6 separate regions of the Homo sapiens genome follow, and all the other regions are linked to region 3. Evidence: promoter capture Hi-C in 16 types of primary human blood cells and fetal thymus (Javierre and others, 2016). All regions are on one chromosome and are shown on one strand. Each heading gives the region's core, a stretch centred on a gene start or on the middle of the fragment in contact. The rest is flanking DNA. Distances are from core to core; before and after follow the strand shown. Region 1 overlaps LOC105371677 (a long non-coding RNA gene). Region 2 overlaps PTPRC (protein tyrosine phosphatase receptor type C). Region 3 holds the start of DENND1B (DENN domain containing 1B). Region 4 overlaps LOC105371677 (a long non-coding RNA gene). Region 5 has its middle 25 kb from the start of PTPRC. Region 6 holds the start of PTPRC-AS1 (PTPRC antisense RNA 1).

Region 1 (4,088 bases), core at 98-2,597, 720 kb after region 3:
AGTTGACCATAAAGAACAAAATAAATATGAATAGCTGCTGAAATGATTGATAGTGTGGATGGATTTAAAACACTCAATGTATAAATTGTATTAAAAATAGTAAAATGAGATAAGCTTTTGTAAGACAAGGTTAAGGTGACATATGGAGATAAAAAATTTGAACAAGGATAAAAGCACAGCTTTCAGACATCCTTAAGTATTTGTGGTGGTCGGTTTATAGGATTAAAGCTGACAGATTAGGAAAGAGAAGTTGTGAATAATGTCTTTAGAACGTTGCTCCAGAGAGAGAAAAGGTGCTCAGAGAGAGGAAAGAATGTGGGTTAATGCCACATGAAAGCCTGGAGAAGCCAATGCATTAACAGCAGACTGGTCTGGAAGTAAGGACCATGGTGGGATTGATGGAGTGGGAATGTTCTCTGGTCCAAAGTTCTCACTTTAGATTCTATGCACTTTTAAGCACCTATGCGGAAAATTTTGGTTTCTTGTTTCAGTGACAAGTAAATAGGGAAAGGTGAAATAATTCATCCAATTGATAAAGACTATAGTACTTATAAAAGATGATATAGAGAATTTAAAATTGGATGTCGATGACATGACAAAATATTAGTTTTCAGTTTTCAATTGGATCTTGTTTATAAAATTTTTACCAAAAAGAGCTAACAAAATGACATGGCCTAACCTAGACATTTATTCTGTTTTCTGGTTTTACATACCTCCCATCCCTTTTATTAGCAAATTCCTCCTTAACCTTTGAGGTCTGCTCAATTGCTACCTTCCTGGAGATGCCTTTCCCCTCTTGCTGCCGTGTCTCCACCTCTCCACTGCTGCAGCACTGCATCCACAGCGTTCCTATACTTCCATCATATTGTGGTACCATTTTCCATTCCCATGCTGGTTTCACATTTGATGAAGAATTTTTCAAGATAGGTAGACATGTTGTATTTTCTTGTTTATGTTTTTAATTCCAGCTCCTAGACTGGGTTCTAATTATCGTTGGTGTTTAATACTTGTTAACTGAATGAATAATTGTAAGAGAAATCATGAGCTTTGTGAAGAAGAATGCTTAAGAGATATTTATTTTATTTGCGGTTAGACAACTAAGGATGAGTCATACCAAATCAGCTTTTTTTTATGTTTTAATTTTTTTTTTTTTTTTTAAGCCATGGTCTTGCTCTTGCTCAGGCTGCAGTGCAGGTTTGACCTCCTGGGTTCAAGTGATCCTTCCACCTAAGCCTCCCTAGTACTACAGGTGTAGGCCACTGAGCCCAGCTTATTTTTTATTTTTTGCAGGGATGGCATCTCACCATGTTGCCCAGGCTGATCTTGGACTCCTGTACTCAAGCAATCTCCCTGCCTTGGCCTCCCAAACTGCTGGGATTACAAGCATGAGCCACCATGCCCAGAGTCCAAGTCAGCTTTGACAACCCCAGCTGCTGGCATAGGCACAGGAATTTTCCGTGATCCAGAGCAGCCAAGGTAGAATCTGGAGCTTTTGTAACTATGGCATCTTAGCATCTGTGGAATACATGAGTCCTGATAGGGGTTGTTAACTCCTAGTGGGCGTAGGTGAATCTTTGGGTATAAAGTACGTCCTGGGGCAACTATATGCCTCTGAGTATGGCTTTTCTTTAGTTCTCAAAATATGTGACAGTTCAATTCCTCGACACTTATTCTGGTTTCTGGTTACAATTTTGTTTTTTATTTGTCCCAAAATTACTCTAAGCCCTGGACTGTCTGCCTTGTGTTTGCTCTGAGCCCTAGACTGTCTGCTTTGTCTTTGTTGCCTCTTCACTGTGTCCACATACATACACATGCATACATACACATACACATACACATACACATACACATACACATACACATACACAAATGAGTTACTGCTTTATTCAGTCCTCACAGACAGAGCCCTGGGAGCATGACAGCTAGTGCCCAGAATCTCCAGCTGCCACCCTCCACTGAGCAGATTAGATTTTCAGAATCTAACTTCTCATCATGACCTCTGCTACTGCTGGTACCCTCATCCTTGCTGCCACCATCATCTCTTGCCGATAGCCTCCCAAGATTTCTACCAATAACTGTCCTTATCATGCTTTAGTTTATTTTCAATAGAGCAAAGTGATCCTTTGAACACTGAAATCAGACCATTTCACTCTTCTACTTAGATCGGATGACTCATCAGTTTATTCAGTGTGAAAGCCAAATTTCCTACCATGGGCTACATGCTGTAGTTTTATTTTTGAATGTCTCTCCTGCTAATCTCCCACTTCTCACTCTACTTCTACTTTTCTGACCTGTTTCTGTTCCTCAATCACACTAGGCATGCTCCCGCCTCAGGGCCTTTGCTTAAGTTGTTTCCTCTTCCTGAAAGCTCTTGTGTAGGCATGAGGGAGCTTAGAAGAATCCCAAATCTTCATGGCACATAAAAACAAAGATTTATATTTTGCCAAAGTTTCACCACCAATAGCTTTCCAAATTGTGCTAGGATTGTACCCAGGCCAAAGGATGAGCCCTTATCTGGACATTAAAAATCTAGTGGCAGATAAAAAGGAAATGTGGGAAAACATGAAAGAATGTGGCTCTTAAAGCTTCTTGGAAATGGATACATCATCCCAATCACATTTCTTTAGCTAAAAAAGTTGTGGGCAGGAATTTATGTCAATTGGTCAGGAATTTATAATCTCAAAAAGAGAGGCATGATATGTTTTAGACAAAATTGCAATCTATCATATGCCAAAAATCGCCTTGACCTCCTCTTCTTCAAGTTTTGCATGAATGTCACCTACACAATGAGGCCAACCATACTGAATAATACATCCTGCTCTACAACTTCTAGGAATTCTCATAACATTCATCACCTTCTAACTTGAAAATATAACTTAGTTTTTTACATTTTTTAAAACCTTGTCTTGTCTTCCTGCTAGAATATAAACTCAATGAGGTGAGGGATCTGGGACTGTTTTCCACTGTTGTATCTCAAGTAACTATGATCAAATACCTGGCAATATCTGTGGAATTAGTAAAGGAATAGATTTGAATATGAATATGACTGCTAAACTTAGATTGTCTTCAGTTTGTGGAGCCTGTTGGGATATGAAAATTTATGCCTGTGGCTGCATTTCCAAACAAAAAGTTACAGAAAAAGGAAAATTGCAAGAAATAAATTTAATTTTATCTAAGTCAAAAAGAGGTGTGAATCTTTTCTGATATGTTTCTGGAAGCCAGATTTTATGTGCCCAGAATCATGAATATTCTAAGGTTCACAGTAGGTTGACTAGAGCCATAGTTTCTATTTTCTGTTTTTTTATGGTGCTTACTTCTTCCATTTAAAATGACTCTAGCTCTTTCTCAAAAGTTTCAAGAAGCTGCTATGCCTGGCTATCAGCCCTGACCTGAACTCAGTAAATGAATAATCTCTAAGATAAGGTGTTGCACATTCTTCATTTTCATGTAGATGCTTTAGAAACCCTTCTGGGAACAGCATTCCTCTTTACCTGTGCCCCAGGCTTGCTTTAGGTGGAGTTGCCTGTCTGAGGCTGTTTAGTGTAGTAGATACTGGGTTATGAAATCCACAGGCATGAGCTTAAATTCCAGCTCCACAAATTTAGCTATGTAATCTTGGGAAAGTTTTTTCTAACCTTTTGAGGCCTCAATTTTTTGTTCTGTAAAATAGTGAAAATAATAACTTTGTAAGTAGAAGATTACGTTTCTTTAACAAAAATAGAAGATGAGGTGCAAACATGTAAAGCTGTTAAGAGGAAATAAAGAAAATCTAGTAAATATATAAAACCAAATAAATGGTGGAAAATAAAAAAGTTATTAAAATTATACTTGACTGTTAAAGTTATATATTGTATTATTAAAGGCATGAAAATGGGGAGAAATGGAATTATCCTAATAAAGGTATCTGTGGAGGCATTTAGTGAGACTTATGACCATTTGAATTAGGGGGAAATAAGATGCAAAAGGAAATTAGGAAATTAAAATAAAGCAAGTATATATTACTTCTATAATCAGGAGAAAGCTCCAGGGATTTAAAACCAATATAAGATGAATACAGTTTTAAAAAAGGAAAAAAATAACAAGATGAA
Region 2 (3,893 bases), core at 239-2,738, 870 kb after region 3:
TTTTTCTAAAAGACATTTGTAGACTCCCTGAGATATATGCTTATTTGTGGAAAAACATATACAGATATAATCATTTGTATCTGCAAATATTGTTTATAATCCTTTCAAGTTGCAAGAAACATTTTGTGATTTAATGTATAATTTGGAAAATTCTTAATGCTTTAAATTATTTATTTTTCTTTTTTAGCAACAAATGAGTTGGATTCTATGTTTCATTTTAACGTGTTAAAATTAGTTTAGTGCCTACAGGAAATAATAAACTTTTGGGGAACAAAATTTATATTGTATGCTGTAAAGGCATAAAGAAATAGAGCCAAATGTAGAGAGCCATCAATGGTAACTCTATGCATAATTCAAATATTTTATTTAATATCTAAAATGCACACACGGACAAGGCCAAAGTTAATCTTTGCCACGGCAACAACCAGGCAGGGTTCAGTTTTACTCAAGACTTCCTAATCCTCTTGCTCTGTGCCTCTTTGCCATGGCAACTGGAAGCCAAACTTTGTTTAGAATTTCTAAATAATGTTAGGGGACAATGATGGTTTTAAGAAGGCAGGTGAAGGTGAGTGTTCTCTGGTTCTAATAAAGTTGTAATGCCAGGCAGATCTACCACACTATAGCATGGCAGTTAGGAGTATATGAGTTATGGTATGTGAGGTATATGATGAGTTTTGTTATGAGTCATAACAGTTAAGACTCATTTCCTGGACATAATTCTTCATTTTTCCATCTGTATTAAAAATATATATCTCATGTTATAAACATGGACTGTGCCTTGCACATCACAGACATTCAATGAAAATTATTTAATTGAATTTGGTAAGCAGTCCTATTAAGTTCTAAATACTCCATAATTTAGAGATTTGGGAATGTGATTAGAATTACTTATTAATTTGAAAAAAAATGTCCTACTAAAAACCTGCCTGTGACCTTTATCATTGCTAAAGTTTGAAATGTACTTTGTTACAGGAAAGACTACGGCTAGGGCCTATATTATCTTTTTCTCTTTTGTTCTGTGTAAGTAAGTATAGGGGCAGAGTAGTTAGCTTGAACTTAGTTCTTTCTTTGTTCTGGACTATTTGCTATCCTCTCACCAGTGACAATTAACCAGTATAGAAATATAGATGTTTCTACATTGTTCATATACTTGAACATATATTTCTTTATGTAGATACTCACACATAAACTAGTTATATATTTGTGGGTTATATATACTAGTCAATCTATCTATCTGTCTATCTATCTATCTATCTATCTATCTATCAGTTCTCCATGTTTGTCTATTTGGCGTTCCCATGAACTTCAGACCTTCGCCTGTGTTCTCTTTTCTCCATTTGGTTACGTATCATTGCCTACTATGTGTTGATCACTCTGATTCTCCATCTCTAGACTCATCCCTCAGAAACACGGAACTTACTACCTTTCCTAAATCCAGACATTAACATGCTCCCCAAGTCCTGAAATTTTGCTTTGTAATAATCTCTAATAACTTCTTGCTTTGACACCTCCATTGCCATCATCTTAATTCATGGCTTTATTATTTCTCACCTGTAAAATTGTAATAGTTTTTTTAATCAGTCTGAAGTCTCATCCTTTTTTTAATGTAATCTACAGCTTAAAAAGTAAAATAAAAAGTGAAGGGTTACTGATTTCTTCTCATTGCCTTTGGTATAAATTCTAATCTTTTTTGCCAGAGAAACTGGTTCCACTAATGATCTGGGGGCTAGGCCTGGAGCTGGGAAGGGATCTTTTTTCTTTTCTTTCTTTCTTCCTTTCTTTCTTTCTTTCTTTCTTTCTTTCTTTCTTTCTTTCTTTCTTTCTTTCTTTCTTTCTTTTTTCTTTCTTTTTCTTCTATGATTGATTAAAAGAAAACAAACAGGAGGTAGTTTTAACACCCACCTCTATACTTTCTCAAGGTGTTTAAGGTTCTGGGCAAATCCTACTTCTTCTATTATGTTCTCTTATGTCACTTTTGCCACAAAATATTTCCATTGAATTGCACACTTTTTATCACCTTTTCTTGGCATTTTTCAAGTCATTTCAATCTGCTCTTTTTTGTGATGATGATTGATGATGATGATGACATGTGAATTAGTGGATTTCTTGACATTGTAACCTACATGAAATCAGGTATAGGAGACACAAAAGGCATAAACTCATAGTTCCCATACCTAATTTTTCACCAGACACTGAATAAATCATAGATTAAAAAAATAAAACTGCATATTGTAGTGACAAAGGAAAGGAAAATTTTCAAAGAGGGAAGTCAAAAAGAGGGAGAATATGAGATAAAAAAATTAACCAGAGGCGAAGTGGGAGGATGAAGACAGCAGGACTATTTTGTCCAGATTAAATTAAGTTGATTTTGGATCTAGATGTTTACAGTCTTGCCTTTTTGTTTTTGTTTGTTTGTTTGTTTGTTTTTTCTTTGCTCCCTTTCTTACTCTCCTTATCTCACCTCTCGTCTGGAAAGAGCCTCCTGACTTCCTAAAAGTTCATAGTTTGAGAATGTTTTTCCTAAATTTTCTTTGATCTGCTCTTTGGACATTCTAGGTAATGTAATTTGGAGGGTCAATTTTATTTTTCAGATACACATACCCATAGGAGAAAAAGCAAGGAATGGGAGGGAAATACAAATGTAGCGGAGTGATAACACAAACAGATCAGGTCCAGTCATGGCAATTGCTGGTTTGAACACTGATGCTAGTGCTCTGGGATTGCTTGCAAGGGCAGATGGAATATGGTGCACCCTAGGTGTTGCATTATTTGCACGACAAAAGTTTGTAGAGAGCTGGGAATAATTTCTTTACAGACAGTGTGGTGATGAATGTCAATCTGAGTAGGTAAGGGGCAGAGATTTGTACTGAGGTTGATTCATTCTCTTGGTAAATACACAATGTTCACAAAGGCAAGGTTTCATCTTCAGACCATGTGTGTATATGTCACCTTGGTGCAGAGAGAGAAATTTTTCATCAGTGCTGACCTTTGATTTTTTTTTCTAGACATCTTATAGATTTATGTAGTTATTTACATGGGAAACAATTAGAATGGAAATTTAACATATCTTCAGTTTAAAATTAATTTCTGTCTAGTCTAAATATCTTTGTAAGTACTAGATACTCAATCCCATAGCAGTGGCCTTTTACCAAAGGCTTAGTGCTATGACTTTTGCATACATAAAGACCTCACTTTTTAAGATATGATACACCAGAAAAAAAATATGGCAAGACTTTAGCAATATGATTTGATGCCTATTTCTATATAATACCCAAATATACAGGAATAAAAATTATGGCAATCACTGGATTTTGTGTACCTGGCTCTAACCAATATTTATATTAGAAAATATCTAATTATTGTCTAAAATATTTAATCTTCATTCCTGTTTGTATGTCAGTGTGCTACTTCAATATCAGTCTGTTAAAAGAGTCTAGGAATGACTACTATAAGCAGAGAATTATATGTTCAGGAATCACAACAAAAAACAAGAACAAATAGAGAAACAAAAGCTTTCCTACTCTTTCATCTAGGACAAGAATAAATACACATAAAGTCAATATTAGTGAAGTAAACAAGCATCTTCTATATCCATTCATAGTACCTTCAATTGATTGATTTCTTAACAGACAATCAGCAAAATTATCAGTTTTTATTAGAGATTTTAGTAGAGACCGAGCTTAAACAAATATATTCTATGGTGCTTAACTCTATAGTATTTAAAGATTCAATATTTATTTCCTCTAAAAATGAGTCAAGTGTCTGAAAGGAAAAAGCCACCTAACTGAAACTTCAGTTTCTACTATACAGGGTATTTATTATAAAACTGTAATTACAATGCAATTATATTGAAGTATAAATGATCATCATTCATTTATTTAAGAATATAATCA
Region 3 (4,055 bases), core at 1,305-3,804:
ATTTGCCCTAAAAGGAAAAAGTTTAAATTAATTTCCTATGACAAATAAACATCTCCATGAAACTTGTATTTTCTTAATTCTAAAACTAATCTTGTTTTTGTCTCAATACATTTCACGTGACTGTATTACTACAGTATAGTAGAAATAACAATGAAACTGTTTTCTCAATTGAGCAACTTAAAAGAGCTGAGACTTAGGAATTCTGAAACTTGGGGCAAAGCATTTAAACGCTGAGACTGTTCTCCCTTACCTATGAGGTGCCTTGTCCACTTCACAGAATAATAGTGAGGATTATAAATCAAATAACATATGTGCAAGTACTTCATTAAGTACTAAGTGCTACAAAAATGCAAAGTATTGGTTTTATCTTATTGGATCAAATTTAAAAGCCAGAGTGTCCCTAAGTGTCATTATACCCTGCCAACAGAGTTTGACACAGGTTCTCAGGCTGTCTCCAAAGGACTTGCAATATAAGTGTAAATGATGAATACATGGTTCCACCTGCCAAGTTCTAGATCACCATAAAACATTGATAATGCTCCATGAATGTGATACGTTGCATATACTTTTCTTAAAATGTATTTACTGTACTTATGCATATTTAAAGTAGCAAACTATTCATAGCTCTAAGGCTAGCAACATAAAAAGCCTTCTTTTTATCCATTATCTTTGGAGAAACCAGCCATCTGCTTCCATGTTAGATTTTCCCACTAGAAACTGTAAGTTTACTTTGCTTAATTCAGAAGTTATTGACTTTTTTACTAACTTGCCATATTTGCAAAATTTCAAAGCAACATTGGTTAAATTTCAAAAAGTGAACTGAAATATACTGAGACACTTTTTCTTCATAACATTGCTGTTTAAATCTCTCGTTCCATCATAAGGTAAAAGATTAAGTCTGTTACCACAACGGCCAATGTGTTAATATCTCAGTTATTCCTGCTAACAAGACCTTAGTGCCTTTGTACATTGGCTGTATTTAATATGTACTTCCTTCAAGAAACGAATGCCAGCTCTGACTTTAAAAAAAAGCATTTCTTTTTTTGGAAGCTTTTCTTATAAGATATGAATCTGGAAACATAGGAAGTGACAAGACATATAAATTAACATGCAAATATACATTTTTTTAGCCTTTCCGCTATTAACTTGTTTCAATGGGAATAATCTGGGCTCAGATGACTTCCTCCCTCTTAAAACAATTAATGTCAAGAAGCATACTATTTTTACTCACTTACCCTGCCCACCATGATGTCAAACACACTGAAGAAAATAATTCTATTACATAATTTCCCTCTTTCCCTAATATTCTTTAGAATTTCTCTTAGGTGTAAAAGTTAAATATTGACTCAGTTTTACTTCTGTGAAATTCAAACGGCCTTTCACAATAATACAAATATACATGGCATTATTTTAAACTTTTTGAGAAGGAGATAGTAAAGGGTGGGTAAGCGAAGTAAAAAGGAATTCTTTCCAAAGTTAAGTTTCAGAAGAAAAATATAAAACTCATGCCTCTAAGATACCTAGAAACAAAATCACCACCGTTATTAAAATTGCTTTTTACCTAATCTCCTGAGCAAAGTAGTCGTTGATAAATACTTTAGCACACACATAAAAGTACCCTCTAATTGGATACCGTTTTGCAAGAACCATGCATCTACAGTTGCTGCATAAAGAAACACCAGAGACCAATCTAATTTTATAAGCAGAATCATAAGAAAACATCCAAGACAAAAGTAACAAACGGACTTAAGAAAACACCGGTTATATTTAATGCTCAGAGAGCACTCGGAATAATAACCTCTTAACCTCAACGCTGACTCCCTCCCGGACACCACACGCACACAGGCAGCCCCAGGAGAGTCACATCTGACACACTCGGGGGAAGCACGAGAACCCCTCAGCGGCGGTGTCAGGGGCCGCCCGGCCTCCCCTGTCCCCCGAAAGGCGGGCGTCGACAAGGCGCTAGTGGCCTCTCCGGGAGGAGCCGCGCCAACCACGGAGGGCCGGGGACGCAGGGCGGGCAGGCTTTGCGGCCTAGCGCCGTCCCGCCGGCCGGCCAGAGGCTTGGGGGCCGGACCGCACCCCCAGCCCGCCCGGCCAACCTCGGCCGCCCGGGGAGCCGGTTGAGCGCGGAGGCGCGGAGGAGCCGAGCTGGCCTGGGAGGGGCCGCCGAGGGACGCCCGCCCCCGACGCGCCCGGGCCCCCCCACTCACTTGGTCCTGCAGTCCATGGTTACATGTCGGTGTGGGGCTGTCCGTCCGGCCCCCGCGCGCTGGCCTGGAAGCCCGCAGCCCGGCCGCGCGAGGGTCGCGCCGTCCCCGCCCACGCCGGCGGCCACACAGGGAAAGAGGCTGCTCACAGCAGCCGTGGCGGCGGGCCCATGTCGGCTGCGCCCCCGGCACTTCCCCGCCTCCCACCCCACCCACCAGAGCCTTTCTGTGACAGCAGCGGTGGCGTGGCCGCCGCCCCCGTCTCCGCCGGTAGCCGCCACCAAAGCTGAGGCCTCTCAGTTCCTGCGACCGGGGCCGCCCGCTGCGGCTCCTGCACCTTCTTGCAAATCAGGAAGTCGCCGGGAGGGGGAAGGGGCGCGCGGGGACGCGCCCAGCGGCTTCACCTGGGCCGTGCGGCTCGCAAGTCGGAGACTGTGGAGGAGGCGGGGGCCAGGTCCCCGCGCCCGGGCGGCCAGAGGGTGCAGGGGGAGCGCTAGTGCCTGCTGGGATGGCCCACGTACCGCTTTGCCACCTAGCCAGAAAGGCAAGGTGCCCCCTGTGTCCTCAGCATGAACCAAACCGGCTTCCTTTCTGGGTCCAGTCCAGATTCCAGGGCGTCGGGGCTGCAACCCCACAAAGGGCGAAGTACCTGGAAAAGTACCTCGACCTGCAGTGTTTTCCACACACATACACACGGACTTGGGTTCCTTTCATTTCATACTACAAATTCAGAGCTCAAGTTGATGCCCCTGGCTCTTGCGTCACTCCAGCTGTGGCCTGCTTACAGCTCTCTGAAATCCAGAGCTACCCCCTCCTGATTCAGGAATGTTCAGACATGTGCACCTGCTAAATAGCCCTGTCAAGTAGCCAAATGGTAGTGCCCCACTTGTCTGCGCATGTGGGAGGCAGACATTCCTATACCACAGACTGCAGTGATAACCAAGGACTAACTTTTGAACACATGTACATAGTCGCAGGCCTCATAGTCTGGCAGTTTAGGCGAGTTCAGAGAGGGCACCACTGAATAAGCGTGGGAGGGACTGATTTACACAGCCCTAAAGCACATGTGAAGCAGGTTATGTGCACTCTCACCCAGTACTTGTCATAGGTGTGTGATAGATACTTTCATCAGCATTTTACAGATGAAGAAACCAGGGAGTAATGGCAAAGCTGGAGTTCACACCAGGTCTATCTGATGCTGATTATTTACTTCTACCTCATATTGCCTGTCTCCCTCCTCTGCTGTCTCATATTTAGGATCTACTGAGAAGACAGGTAGAAAAGTCTTATGATGGACATTCAAATGACTGTGGAAGGCCAGGCTCTTACACAGAGATCTTCTGGGAAAGGCCTTCTCCCAGCTAACACTGCCACCCTTGACACATAGCCACAGTGTTTCTTCCAAAAGGTGGTTACTTCAGACTTTATTCATGCAGAAGTTAAGATGATGAGAGGAAACCAAATGTGGTATGAATGTAGTGTGAGTCATAAGACATAAAAGTCAGAAAAGGAGTCTTAAGAATTAAAAAACTCAAGAGTCAGAGAACCTGAAGTTGCACTCAGTTATATAACCTTAAACTTTCTTGCCAAAATTGGGTACTACTTGGTCAACAGGATCAGAAATATTGTATAGCCATGGGCCTGTTAGTAAAAAATGAGGACGGGCCATAACTGGGAAACAAACAAACAAAAAAAAAATGTGTTTATCATAAAGTGTTGTCATAGCTTGACTCGGGGTGAGACACTTCAGTTTCTCGGTTCCTACATTTGTAAAATGGGAATTATTACTTGTACATCACATGAGCAGTGTGATGTTCAAGTAAAACAGGTGCTACAAATTTGTAT
Region 4 (4,358 bases), core at 416-2,915, 690 kb after region 3:
ATTTACTGATGTGAGAAGTCATTGATTAAAGTATAGCTTGAAAAGAACCCCCAAAACATAACCAAAAACATATATCCCTTTTATTTTTAAGAGTATTAAGGATGAAACTAACCCACAAATAAAACCAAACGGTGCTTCATAAGATAGATGATGAAAATCACAACCATATATAAATTAAATCTCCTCCCACCCAAACAAGATGAAGTAAAACAGAGGATCGATGTGATTTTATTTCATGTGCTTTTGAAATATACGTTCTCAGAGAGGCTTTAGAACCGAGATACAAAGAGGAAAATGTTCACTGAAGAGAATAAACAACACATAGATGAGAGAATTGTTTCCACCTCAAGTAAACAAACAAACCTCTATTTTCCAAACAGTTTCTGCCTTGATTGCCGTCCATTCCTTTATAAAATGGTGGCAATATTTTCAGAACTTTATGTAAAATTTATGAGGGAAACAGGCATAGTTAAGACACTCTTGATTTGGAACCATTGCTGATCAAGGGACAAAATGTGACATATTTACATATTTTTCTTCAGAATTGAAATAGAATAATGTTTTCTATTTCTCTGCACATTAAAATTTTAAAAGCCCTTGCATGTGTTATTTCATCTCCCAACCACACTGTGCAGTATCATTAGCCTCATTTTAGAGTGGGTAGCCGAATTAGCATTCAAACCCTGTCTCATACCCTCCAATGCACTGACAAAGCTACATGTGCCTTTGCCTTTTTTTTTCCTTAGGGGTTTTTGAGAGCTTAGATCTGAAACAGTAAGAAGAGGAGTAGGGTTAGGAAGTGAGTGTAAGGGGAGGAAGAATTAAATGCATACATAGGGAGAGAGGGTCACTCACACTGCCTGCAAGAGAGGCAAGCAGGGAAAGCCTTATGCAAAGTTTCATACAGAGCGTCATCACCCATGGTGTCAGAGTTATCTAGAGAATGGGACAATAATTACGACTGTTGTAAACAATCCAGCCTTAATGAAATATCCTTAAATACAATATTCAGAAGTATCAAACACTAAATGAGAATTCCTAAAGAGTGGATGAAAATTCAGTACAGAGATCCATTAACGTATTGAGTAGCTTTATATCAATTGCTGCTAGTCATATGTAATCAATTTCTTTTTCCTACCCATTCTTGTTCATTTCAGATAATTCACTTTGGTTTTGATGTTACTAGAGATGCAAAGTTGTATTTTATAAATATTTTTCAGTTAAAAATTGTTTCATAGTATAGGTTTTAAAATGTGATAATAAAGCTTCATTTTGAATAGAGTTTTGCTTTAATCATTGTAGATCAGCCTTAATGTACTCAATTAAAAGTAGTTTTCTCATTATCATAAATGTTCTAATATGCATTTCCACCTATCCCTAATTGCCTATCCTAGGGGAAAGTCCTTTGCCATTGCAGCACTAAGTCACCGTAAATGAAAAAGCATGCTTAAATACTAAAATATTTATGATCTAGTCTACTTGCATTATCAACTCATCACAACTTATTGGTAAGCAATTGCAGTGCCTCTTGGCTAAAAAAGCAATGCCAGAAGTGGTAAGGCTCATGCTGACAGCTGTGTCTGGGCTGTTGCTAGCTACTTCAGTACTCTTTGCCCTTGGCAAAGAACTTAGCGAGAGAACAATAAAACATATTGTTGTAAAACAGTAAAAGGTACCCAGTTTGCCAGTTTGCATATTTCTCTGCAGCTACCCATGATACAGGTAGCTATGGGCAGAGCTTGCAGCTTTGCCAGACTTGCTGGCTTTGAACAAAAGTATTTTGTTTCAGGCCATTCTATTGGGTGGGTTCCTGTGGGTATTTTGAGGAAGACTAGGGAAAGAGGTGTTTGTGTGTTTGTGTGTGTGTGTGTGTGTTTTACTTTGTTTTTACTGTTTTTTAACAACAAATCATGAATTAATTTACCCCATACGAAACCTAAACAAAGGAAAAAAGCCTTTGGGAATCATCTTTGAAAAGAGCTGGCAGCCAGGAGAAAGAAAGAAGTTTGCTACAGCAGTTAGGAGAACATATTTGTTTGACTGAATTTATTTTTTATCATCCACTGTAAGCTTTCATTTGACTTAGCTGTTGTGCTTTGTGCCACAAAGCTAGGTCTGTCCATGTCATGGAGGCCCTCCTTCCTGGAATCTCAGTCCACCAGCACAGTATAAACTTCCATTTACAGTGAACGCGTGGAATACCTTGGCTGTGCTGGCAGAAAAAGGGAGCTGATGCCAAGTGAGCTGCAACCACAAAAAAATCATCCAGAAAAAATTTGCAACTCAGAATGAGCTAATAAAGAAATCTGTTTTTTGATGTTTCTGGAACAAAAGCATGAATTATTTTAAATTTTATTTTATTTTATTTATTTATTTATTTTTTGCTTTCCTGAAAATATCAGCCTTCTGTCTTGTCTAAACTTTTGCAGGGTATTACCAAAAACCATCTTTGGTATTGAACATGTTTAAACTTTATTATCCTCTTGTAAATCTGGCATCTGTGGGTAGATTCCAGAAATCAACCATCTCTGCATCATCTAGAGGACAGCACAGAGCCTTGCATGCAGTATCTGTGGATGGTCATTTGTTGAATGCATGAATTTACAAAACATACTAGCCATTTATAAAAAGATTTTTTGAAATTAAATTAAGGTGAAAACAGTAAAAGATAATGTTATATATTAAACAAGCATCTTCTAGAAGTGGCATAACATAGGTAAATATGTAATTTGTGCAAGTATCAGTGAAAGTACCCAACCAAGTTTCATACCTATGTATCTGTTCTCCCTTAATTATATTTTAGTTTTTCTGTGGGCCATCAAAAACAGCCAACTTTCTCTATTTTTAAAAAATATAATTTTAAAAAATTATTCTCTTTGTTACAAAATGAAAGTCCAATCTAAAAGCAGATAATGACTTTGAAAGGAAATAAAAATTAACATTGGTTTAAGTCTAACTATGTTCAAGGAACTTAATTTTGTGTGTGCTTGTATTGTCTATAAATTGGCATGCAATGATGAAACAGCAAATTCAAATTAATTAGTACATGGACTTCTTTAACTATAGCTGCTGTAAGTGTAGGAAACATTTGATTGTATAAAAAAGTAGATAATTGCAGGCTTGCTTTTTTTTCTTCTTGCCTCCCTCTCTCTTTTTTAAATAGAGATTTAAGAGAACAGAAGTTTTTCTCCTATCAAAATTCATGGCAGCATATAAAATCCTGCTCAAAATAGTCATGTGTGATGAGGTGATTCCCAGTGCATGTTTGGAAGGATGTTCCATCTTCTCAGGTACCATATTTGCACAGATCTATGTTGCTAAAGCTATGGAAATATCATAGTTGAAGAACGTTGATAATTGCAGACTGAAGAATTGACAGCACTCTGTAATTAACACATTCAGTTCAGGTAGGCATAGATACCCAGTTGAGAACAACCACCACAGGACGTTGTCTAGCATAAAATACATAGCAGAACTCATGTATGGATACACGCACATGTGCACACACACAAACAAATAAGCTACAAAAGAGGAGCTAGACAACCAAGACCAAAACATTTTTTTAGATGTATCTGGCTAAGGTTTTCATGTCATTGAGTAAGAACTGACATCTAAGAATAGTACTACAATACAGTTTATACCTAGACAGTTAAAATACAACTATTATTTGGTTGGCATGTGTTATGGACTTAATGTTTGTGTCTCCCCAGAGTTCATATGTTGAAATCCTGTCTACCAATGTGATGGTGTTTGGAGGTGAGGGCTTAGAGTTGGATTAGGCCATGAGGGTGGGACCGTCATGATGAGGTTAATGCTCTCAACGACATTATGCTAAGTGAGATAAGCCAGGCACAAAAAAGACAAATACTGCATGATCTCACTTATACGTGGAATCTAAAAAAATCAGTCTCAGAAACAGAGTAGAAAGTTGGTTGCTAGAGGCTAATTAAGTGGGGAGAGCAGAGAAGAGTGGGATGGGAAAAAAGGACATATTGGTTAAAGACTACAAAGTTTCAGTTCAGTTAGAATGAAGGAATACATTTTTGTGATCTATTGTACTATATAGTGACTATACTTAATAATAAGGTATTGTATATTTTTTAATTGATTATAAATAGATTTTAAACATTCTCACCACAATGTAAGGGATAAACTGGCTTGATTTAATCTTTCTACAATGTATACATGGATCAAAAGATAACATTGTATCCCATATACAATTATCATGTGTCAATTTGAAAATGATAAAAAAATTAGATGAAACAAACAAAAAAAAAAGAGGCATAGATCTCTCTCTCTCTCTCTGCCATGTAAGAATACAACAAGAAGGTGGCCATTTGTGAGCCAGGAAGAGCCCT
Region 5 (4,129 bases), core at 1,213-3,712, 840 kb after region 3:
CCTCCCTCCACCCCACAACAGTCCCCAGAGTGTGATATTCCCGTTCCTGTGTCCATGTGATCTCATTTTCCAGATAGTTTTTGATGATAAAACCTAAGTGAATCTGTTCTTTTTTTTTTTTTTCTATTCATGATCTTTCTTGATTGATTTTATCCTGTGCCCAAACCAAAACAGCACAGCACCATGGCTATGAGAAAGAGGTCTCAGAAAACTGAGTGTCGTTATCTGGCTTTTAAAGTTTGCCCTATCTAGATATGATGCTGTTTCTTTTAGATTTTTTTACACCAACTTTTGTCAGATAGTTTTTGATGATAAAACCTAAATTAATCTGTCCTTTTTTTTCTATTCATGATCTTTCTTGATTGATTTTTATCCTGTGCCCAAACCAAAACAGCACTGTAACTATGAGAAAGAGGACTCAGGAAACTCAGTCAATATCTGGCTAACAAAAGTCTATGCGTGGTTCCTCCTAGCCCTGCTATGACTTTTCCCAAATGTCAAATGTTGTTGATGTCTCGTCTCACAGATTTCCCTGTCTACTTGAGAAAGGCATAAAACCCATTTTATCTTAAAAATGCTCGTAATTGGGATCGCACTTTAAGTATAATGCTTACTTGATTACTAAATTTATTGTCTTTTTCTTAAACTATGTTTTTTAACCTCTCTGCAACATTTAACATCATTAATCATCATTTCTTCTTTGAAACTCAGCTGTTATAGTGGAGAAAAACCTTGGAAATAGTTAGTTCATGTTTCTTGTTTTACAGATGAAGAAACAGTGATCTCGGAATCTGGAAGGACTTGTCTAAGGCTCCACAATTAGGAAGTCTCTAGACATAACTCTCTTGGTTCTCCTGTTCCTTCTCTATTTCCTCCAGAAGCTGCTCTGTACTTGACAAGAAGTAGATATTAGTCAAGATTCATTTCTTTTACTTTTGCTTTCTTTTTTGTTTTTTTTTTTTTTTTTTTTTTTTTTTGGTGGGGGGATATCATCTACTTCCTGGCTTATATGATCAACTTTATATGAATAGGAAAGACCGTGGACTTAGTTGTCAGACAGTCCTGGATTAGAATATTTGATCATTCACTTTGTATAACTTATAAACATGTCACACTGATCTTAGATAAGTTAATGGTCATTTATTTTATTTTATTATTTTTATTTTTTTCAAAATGGAGTTTTGCTCCTTTTGCCTAGGCTAGAGTGCAATGGTATGATCTTGGCTCACTGCAACCTCTGTTTCCTGGGTTCAAGTGATTCTCCCACCTCAGCCTCCCAAGTACCTGGGATTACAGACACGCCCCACTATGCTCAACTAATTTTGTATTTTCAGTAGAGACGGGGTTTCACCATGTCGGCCAAGCTGGTCTCAAACTCCTGACCTCAGGTGATCTGCCCGCCTTGGCCTCCCTAAGTTCTGGGATTACAGGTGTGAGCCACTGAGACTGGCCAGTTAATGGTCATTTAAATGATCTGTGAACCCAAATGGCTTCAGAGATGAAGGAGTTAAGATTGTAACATATGAAAATATTGAACATTAAAAATCAATGACCGAAGCTTTCAATTCAAGAAACTAAAAATAGAATAGCAAATCAAACCAAGATAATGTACAAGAAAGGAAATAAGATTGATAGGAATAAAAAATCAATGAAATATAAATTAAATTTATAAGAGAAAATTAAGAAAACATAGAACCCTGTTATTGGAAGAAATCAATAAATCTCTGGGAAAACAAACGAACAAAAAAAGATGGAATATATAAAATGCCAATACCAGGACTTGAAAGGTGGTATTGTTACTCATCTTGTAAACTTTGAAGAGTTAGTAAAATTATATTAAGAGTAACATTGTGTCAATAAAGTTGTTAATTCGTATTAAATTAATAACTTTTTTGAAAACATGGCTTATCAAAACTACCTCAAGAAGACTTAGAAAGTTTAAAAGTTTTTTTACTTACAAATTGATTTTTTTTTAAAATCAAAAACCTTTGCTCTTCTTCCCCCTCAAAAATCCTCCAGGCCCAAATGCTTTTTGTAATTTTGGGGTTTAGAACATCATACCCCAAAGTATCGTGCCTTGCCATGCTGACTGTCTTTGAGCTCAAGAAAACAAAAGGCCTCAGAAGTGAGGTCTCTCTGACCTTCTTCCATCCTTCTGCCTCCTGCCCCAATTTCTCCCCCAAAGCAAGCCATAAAACCTAGAAAGAACAGTCTATGACCTACTTTTCCTGAAAGTAGGTCATAAGACCCTCCTGTGACAGATGCCCTGCACTGTGCCAAGAAGAAAGAAATGTTGCACAGATAGGCCAAGAAGCCTGAACACACAGGCCTTGCTCAGTTTATTCCCGTTAGAGCATATGTTTTTGTCCAATCATATTTCTATAAAATTACCGGCTTCTTTTATTAGATTTAGCAAAGAAACAGATGGTCTTCCCTGGGTCTTTAGGTTTTCATTTCTGAAGGATCCCATGTCACATAAAACCTTCATTATATATAAATTTCACCTGTGAATCTTGAAATGGGTGAGAAAAACATACAACTTTTTTCTCCTCTACTGTAAGAAGTAACATTCACTTGTATAAACTGTTCTTGGGAACTCAGAAAAGGAAACACTTCCGTTTTATTTTAAGAGGTTAGCATAATCTTTTTTTCTTCTTTTTTTTTTTTTTTTTTTTTTGTGACAGAGTCTTGCTCTGTCACCCAGGCTGGAGTGCAGTGGTGCGATCTCAGCTCACTGGAACCTCTGCCACCCGGGTTCAAGCAATTCTCCTGCCTCAGCCTCCTGAGTAGCTGGGATTATAAGCGTAAGCCACCAGGTTCAGCCAATTTTTGTATTTTTGGTAGAGACAGGGTTTCACCGTGTTGGCCAGACTGGTCTCAAGCTCCTGACCTCAAATGATCCACCTGTCTTGGCCTCCCAAAGTGCTGGGATTACAGGTGTGAGCCACTGTGCCTGGCCTAGCAGGATCTTGTTATCAAAAATTTACTGTTAGCAAATTACAGAAAAAATGCAAAAATACTAAGTAAAATATGAGTACATAAAACTAGTGAAATGTAAAAAGAATAATAGACCTACCTAGTACCATATATTGTGACCAAGTGGACTTTATTCCAAGAATGAAAGGGAAAGTTTACTATTCAAAAACAATCAATGCAATTTTACCACGTAATTTAAAAAAAGAGACAGATAATGAGAGAGAGAAATCCTATAATCATCTCCTCAGGTGCAGGAAAATATAAACACATTTATGATTCAAAAAAAGAAAAACACCTTAGAGAGTTGGGAAGAGAAAGGTAGTTTCTTAATCTGACAAAGAGCTTCTGTAAAAACCTACAGAAGATCCTATAGTAAATGTGATATTATTGAAAGCTTTTTGTCTGTATTTGGGACTGAGAAGTCCAGTGTCATCACTGCTTCCCAACAAGATACTGAAGGCCCATCCTAGTAGACTAATGCAAGAAAAAGAAATAAAAGGCATAAGGCAAAGAATGGCAGAAATATGGCCATGTACATAGAAAATCCAAATTAATCTGCAAATTACTGATATTTGTAAGTGATTTTAGCAGCATTGAATTACAATAGCATGTGGTCATTAAACAAAAATCAATTACGTTTCTTTTTTCCTTTTCTTCTTCTTCTTCTTTTTTTTTTGTTTGTTTATTTGTTTGTTTGTTTGAGATAGAGTTTTGCTCTTGTTGCCCAGGCTGGAGTACAATGCCTGATTTTGGCTCACTGCAACCTCTGCCTCCTGGATTCAAGTGATTCCCCTATCTCAGCCTCCCAAGTAGCTGGGATTACAGGTGTGTTCCACCATACCCAGCTAATTTTGTATTTTTAGTAGAGACATGGTTTCACCATGTTCGTCAGGCTGGTCTCGAACTCCTGATCTCAAGTGATCCACTTGCCTCAGCCTCCCAGAGTGCTCAGATTACAGGTGTGAGCCACCACAACTGGCCTACATTTCTTTATATCAGGAACAAACAAATTGGAAATGAAAGTAAAAATAGAATGCAATTTATAATAGTATCCAAAAACAGAACTATTGGCTGGGCACAGTTCACTTGAACTTGAGAGGCAGAGGTGGCAGTAAGCTAAGATTGTTTCACTGCACTACAGCCTGAGTGACAG
Region 6 (4,034 bases), core at 1,470-3,969, 890 kb after region 3:
GGGGGGACTACAGGCGCCCGCCGCCACGCCTGGCTAATTTTTCTTTTTTTTTTTTTGTATTCTTAGTAGAGACGGGGTTTCACCGCCCTGCTGCCTTTTAAAGCAATTTAATACATGAGTTAAATATCATATTTTAAAAATAGATTTTATTTTTTATTATAATTTTGATGAATGCATTTTTGTCAAAGTTGTCAAAGTCAAGAAGTCATTATTGAGACCCTGAGGGTAAGGCAGGAGCCAAGTGAGAACAAGCAGATGTCAAAGATGGTGAAAAACTAGAACAGCCAGGTCCCCCAGGCATATACAGAGAAGTTTTGCAATGGCAGGTCCCCGTGGTTGTCTGACCCAGACTTCCACCTTGAGGTAACTGGGGTAACTATAACGATATTTTCATCCTGATCTCTTCATGCAGTTATATGTTTCCAAGAACAGATAAACTGTGAACTTAATACAAGTGTCTCCTTTCCTTGGATTCTCACCATCTGGGTGGTAAACATGACAGAAACATTCAAGTATGTTCAATGTAGTACATGGTAACAAATGCTTTAGCACAGACTAGGGAGCATGTCTGGCAACATGTTGGCAAATAATTAAATTGGCACATTCAGGATAAAATGAGAACATGGAAAAACAGAATATGATTCTCTTTCCAGCCCTGGAAAGACATCCCAAGTGTACGTATTGTTTATATTATGTTATTAGTATATCTTTACCAGCAAAGGGCAGGTCATCATCATTCAATATGCTCAAATACTCACATTTAAAGACATAGGCACTTTGAGAGGCCAAGGGGGGAGAATCACTTGAGCCTAAGAGTTCAAGACCGGCCTGGGCAACATGGCAAATCCCATCTCTACAAAAAATACAAAAATTAGCTGGGTATAGTGCCTGTGGTCCCAGCTACTTGAGAGGCTGAGGTGAAAAGATTGTTTGAGTCGAGGAAATGGATGCTGCAGTGAGCCATGGTCACACCACTGCACTCCAGCATTCTAGCCTGGGCAACAGAGCAAGACCCTGTCTCAAAAAAAAAAAAAAAAAAAAGAGAGATGTAGGGAGCATTGTGGACATCTATTCATGGAGGGTTAAACAATAGAATTAGACAACCATGTGTATGTGTGGAATCATGTGTTTTTTCCACACATGTAGGAAGGAGAAGGTAGGAACAATGAAAAGATTCTTTTAGTGATCATAGTGGCTCCAAAACAGATGCTTTGGTATATGTAATACCCATTTATCTTATAAAGAAAATAAAGAAATAATAAAAGCATTTGCTAACCATGTTAGATGCTATAGTAAATGTAAAAATAAAGGGTCTGTTAATCTATTAACTGAGCTTAATATATGATGTGATATAACAGCAGCCTTCAAATATGCGGAGGGCTATAACAGAGATCATGATGAACAGACTTTTATTCTGGCTTAGAAAGACTAGACACAGAAATTAAAGGCATAAATTACTCTACAAGCAAAGCAATCTTAACATAACACTCCTTTCAAGGTAGACTATGAATATTTCCACCAATAATATATTTATTAAAATAGATTCCTTTTCATTTGTCTTTTTAAGTTAAACATAATCTTGCTTGAATGAGGATGAGTATAAGATACCTCAGTCATGACCTTGTAGATCACTGCATCAGCCAGCTTTGTATTCAGCTATCAAACAAAATAAAATGTGATCACTAGTGGTTCAAATACATTGGAGTTCTACAACTAAAGATCTAAAGGAATGAAATCCATGACTAGTACAAAGACATAATAATGCCCTAAGCAACTTACGATATTTTGATGTTTCTTTTCTGACACCCCATTCGATAGGCTTTTGTCTTCATGCTCAGCATCTCCTATCTCATTTGGGATGCTATGCGTCCACACCTTTCATCACATTCCAGCAAAAAGAAAGGGAAGGCAAAGTGGTAATATATTTTTCCTAGTGAGGTTTTGCCTCTTTATTCAGGGATGGAAACCTTCCCCAGAAGCTTTTGTCTACACTTATTGGCCAGAAATTTAACATATAACCATTCATTGCTGTCAGAGGTGGGAAGGAGTCCCTGAGAAAGAAATTATTCTTGTTTTCCAGCCTCTATTGTAGCATTTAACAAGGAAGAATGGGATTATGAATAGCTTTGGAATGTTTATCATGTCTTCTAGTTGCCATAGCTCATAGTCATTTTATATGATTGAATCTATATTAGGCCTTTTATCTGACAAGTTTCCCAATGTACAAAGACTGAAAAAAAATAATTTTCCTCAGATGGGAATAAAGAATGTCAACTGGTCTGGCCAAGTGAGTTTGGAAAGCTAAGATTTAGCCTTGGGTGCATTATTGATGGACAATAAAGGAGTAGGTGGCACTCATCCATTCATTCAGTTATTCTAGCTGTGCTATTGAATACTTGCTAACTGCAAAGCACAGAGCTAGATCCTAGTAAGAATATAGAAAAGAAAGTCACAGTCTCTGCCTTGAAAACATATTTATTTTATTTCTAGGACAAGACATCTACACATATACAAACTGTCAATTCATAACATGTCATGGAAACATAAAAGAAGGTATCAGTGAAAGTGGAGTGTTTAAGGAAATTTCCATGCAGTTGATAGAATTTTAATCCTATAATTTCAATAGGTAGTAGCTGTGTCTCAGGCATTCTAGGCAGTGCACAGCAAGAGAAAAGATTGAGATAAAGATAAAAACTGGAAAGAAGTAGGCAATCAGTCATATTTCTGCAAAGCAATGTTAGAAAATTGCATGTGTTAGCTTGTATACACAACTTAGCTTACAATGTTAGCTTGTAGCTAACTGAATACAGATGTGAGAGTTAAAATATACTCTCCTAACAGTAGAATAATGATTGTTAGAGTGGCAGGGATGATCTTATAGAAATAAACATTGGACAACCAGCAAAAACAGTGAAAGCCAGCCATATGGCTATCTGGAGGAAGAGCATTCCAGCTACTCAAATCCAAAGTGGTATCATGGTGTGATGTCTTTTTTTTTATTTTTGTTTTAGAGACAGGGTCTCACTATATTCCCCAGGCTGGTTTCAAACTCCTGAGCTCCTGTGATTCTCCTGCCTCAGCCTCCTGAGTATAGTCACATGCCACCATGCCCAGCTAAGTTATATATAAACATAAGCACAGAGTAACATGGTAGCAAAAAATAATGTCACCCAAATTAGGGTTTTGAAGACAATACAGGAGTTAGATAGATAAAGAAGAGAGGGAAGGGCATAACACAAAGGAACAGGAAGTATTAAAATGTGCGTGTTATGGACTTGCATACAAATTGAGTGCTTTAATTTTGCCAAGCATCTTTCATAACACTATAAGGAATTAACAGTATGAGATAGCATAAGTAAGGGGGCCTGAGAACTTACATAAACACCCTTGGTACATGGAAAGTAAATATAAAATGGTGCTGATAATTCTAATTACATAGTTTATAGAAAAGATACATGACCAAGCTTGAAGCAAGAATGATTGATAAGGAATTAGGTAGGTTCTGTATAAGGAAAGGTGATTTCAGATCCCAAAAGGGCATGGCTGAATGTTTAGCCTTTCAGAGTTGGGGAATCCATTTCTTCCTGTGGAAGGATTAGTCTTTAGGTGAATAGATATGTATCGAAGGGAAATTAAGAGAGCATAAGAAAACCCCACTTTACCTGCCATCTATCCATGGAAGCAGCAATAAGACCACCTGAGAGCTATGGTACAATTAAATTGAAGATATTTGAACACATAAAGTAGGTGTAATGTAACATATAGGCTCAAACATTTGAAAGTGATGATATTTGGTCATTGCTGGCCTACAAAAGAAATGATTTTATGTGATTCAGTCTAATGGTAATAGTTACAAAGGATTGACTTCTTCGCAAATAAAATGGTTGAAATAGTACCCAAAACTAGCAGATTGGGCAAAAATTACAAAGAAATATCTAAGTGGTTGCATAGTAACCACAAAAATGAACACACTTATTTTCAGAGTTCAAACCGTGGTAGATTTGAGAGTATGTTTGGAAATGACTAATGCTTAG

The links. Contacts are between HindIII fragments. The CHiCAGO score rates a contact against its expected background, and 5 or more counts as called.
Region 1: a contact is called between a fragment that was not itself captured here and the fragment with the promoter of DENND1B in region 3, in 1 of 17 cell types (M0 macrophages). The highest score is 5.4, in M0 macrophages.
Region 2: a fragment that was not itself captured here is called in contact with the fragment with the promoter of DENND1B in region 3 in 1 of 17 cell types (M2 macrophages); the score reaches 5.9 in M2 macrophages.
Region 4: a contact is called between a fragment that was not itself captured here and the fragment with the promoter of DENND1B in region 3, in 1 of 17 cell types (M2 macrophages). The highest score is 8.1, in M2 macrophages.
Region 5: a contact is called between a fragment that was not itself captured here and the fragment with the promoter of DENND1B in region 3, in 1 of 17 cell types (fetal thymus). The highest score is 5.4, in fetal thymus.
Region 6: a contact is called between a fragment that was not itself captured here and the fragment with the promoter of DENND1B in region 3, in 2 of 17 cell types (erythroblasts and M2 macrophages). The highest score is 5.6, in erythroblasts.

What each region holds. Positions count from the first base shown.
Region 1 is chr1:198,495,559-198,499,646 of GRCh38, forward strand. All of the region lies in intron 1 of LOC105371677 (a long non-coding RNA gene), which reads right to left. Among named protein-coding and RNA genes, the nearest start is that of ATP6V1G3, 43 kb to the right of the region's middle. The HindIII fragment of the contact is 2,471 bases long and covers 113-2,583 here.
Region 2 is chr1:198,641,134-198,645,026 of GRCh38, forward strand. All of the region lies in intron 2 of PTPRC (protein tyrosine phosphatase receptor type C), which reads left to right. Among named protein-coding and RNA genes, the nearest start is that of PTPRC, 4.0 kb to the left of the region's middle. The HindIII fragment of the contact is 4,043 bases long and covers 1-3,510 here.
Region 3 is chr1:197,772,926-197,776,980 of GRCh38, forward strand. DENND1B (DENN domain containing 1B) reads right to left here and starts at 2,555. Exons shown (of 23, transcript NM_001195215.2): 1 at 2,214-2,555; 2 at 1-7. The coding sequence starts at 2,230. RefSeq lists silencers at 1,903-2,412, 2,563-2,762, 3,054-3,348 and an enhancer at 3,723-3,772. The HindIII fragment of the contact is 6,146 bases long and covers 1,049-4,055 here.
Region 4 is chr1:198,465,925-198,470,282 of GRCh38, forward strand. The region is part of intron 1 of LOC105371677 (a long non-coding RNA gene); the gene reads right to left. Among named protein-coding and RNA genes, the nearest start is that of ATP6V1G3, 73 kb to the right of the region's middle. The HindIII fragment of the contact is 805 bases long and covers 1,264-2,068 here.
Region 5 is chr1:198,612,194-198,616,322 of GRCh38, forward strand. No RefSeq gene overlaps it. Among named protein-coding and RNA genes, the nearest start is that of PTPRC, 25 kb to the right of the region's middle. The HindIII fragment of the contact is 1,812 bases long and covers 1,557-3,368 here.
Region 6 is chr1:198,665,220-198,669,253 of GRCh38, forward strand. The region is part of intron 2 of PTPRC (protein tyrosine phosphatase receptor type C); the gene reads left to right. It overlaps PTPRC-AS1 (PTPRC antisense RNA 1), which reads right to left and starts at 1,923. Exons shown (of 3, transcript NR_199042.1): 1 at 1,780-1,923. RefSeq lists an enhancer at 3,545-4,034. The HindIII fragment of the contact is 1,485 bases long and covers 1,978-3,462 here.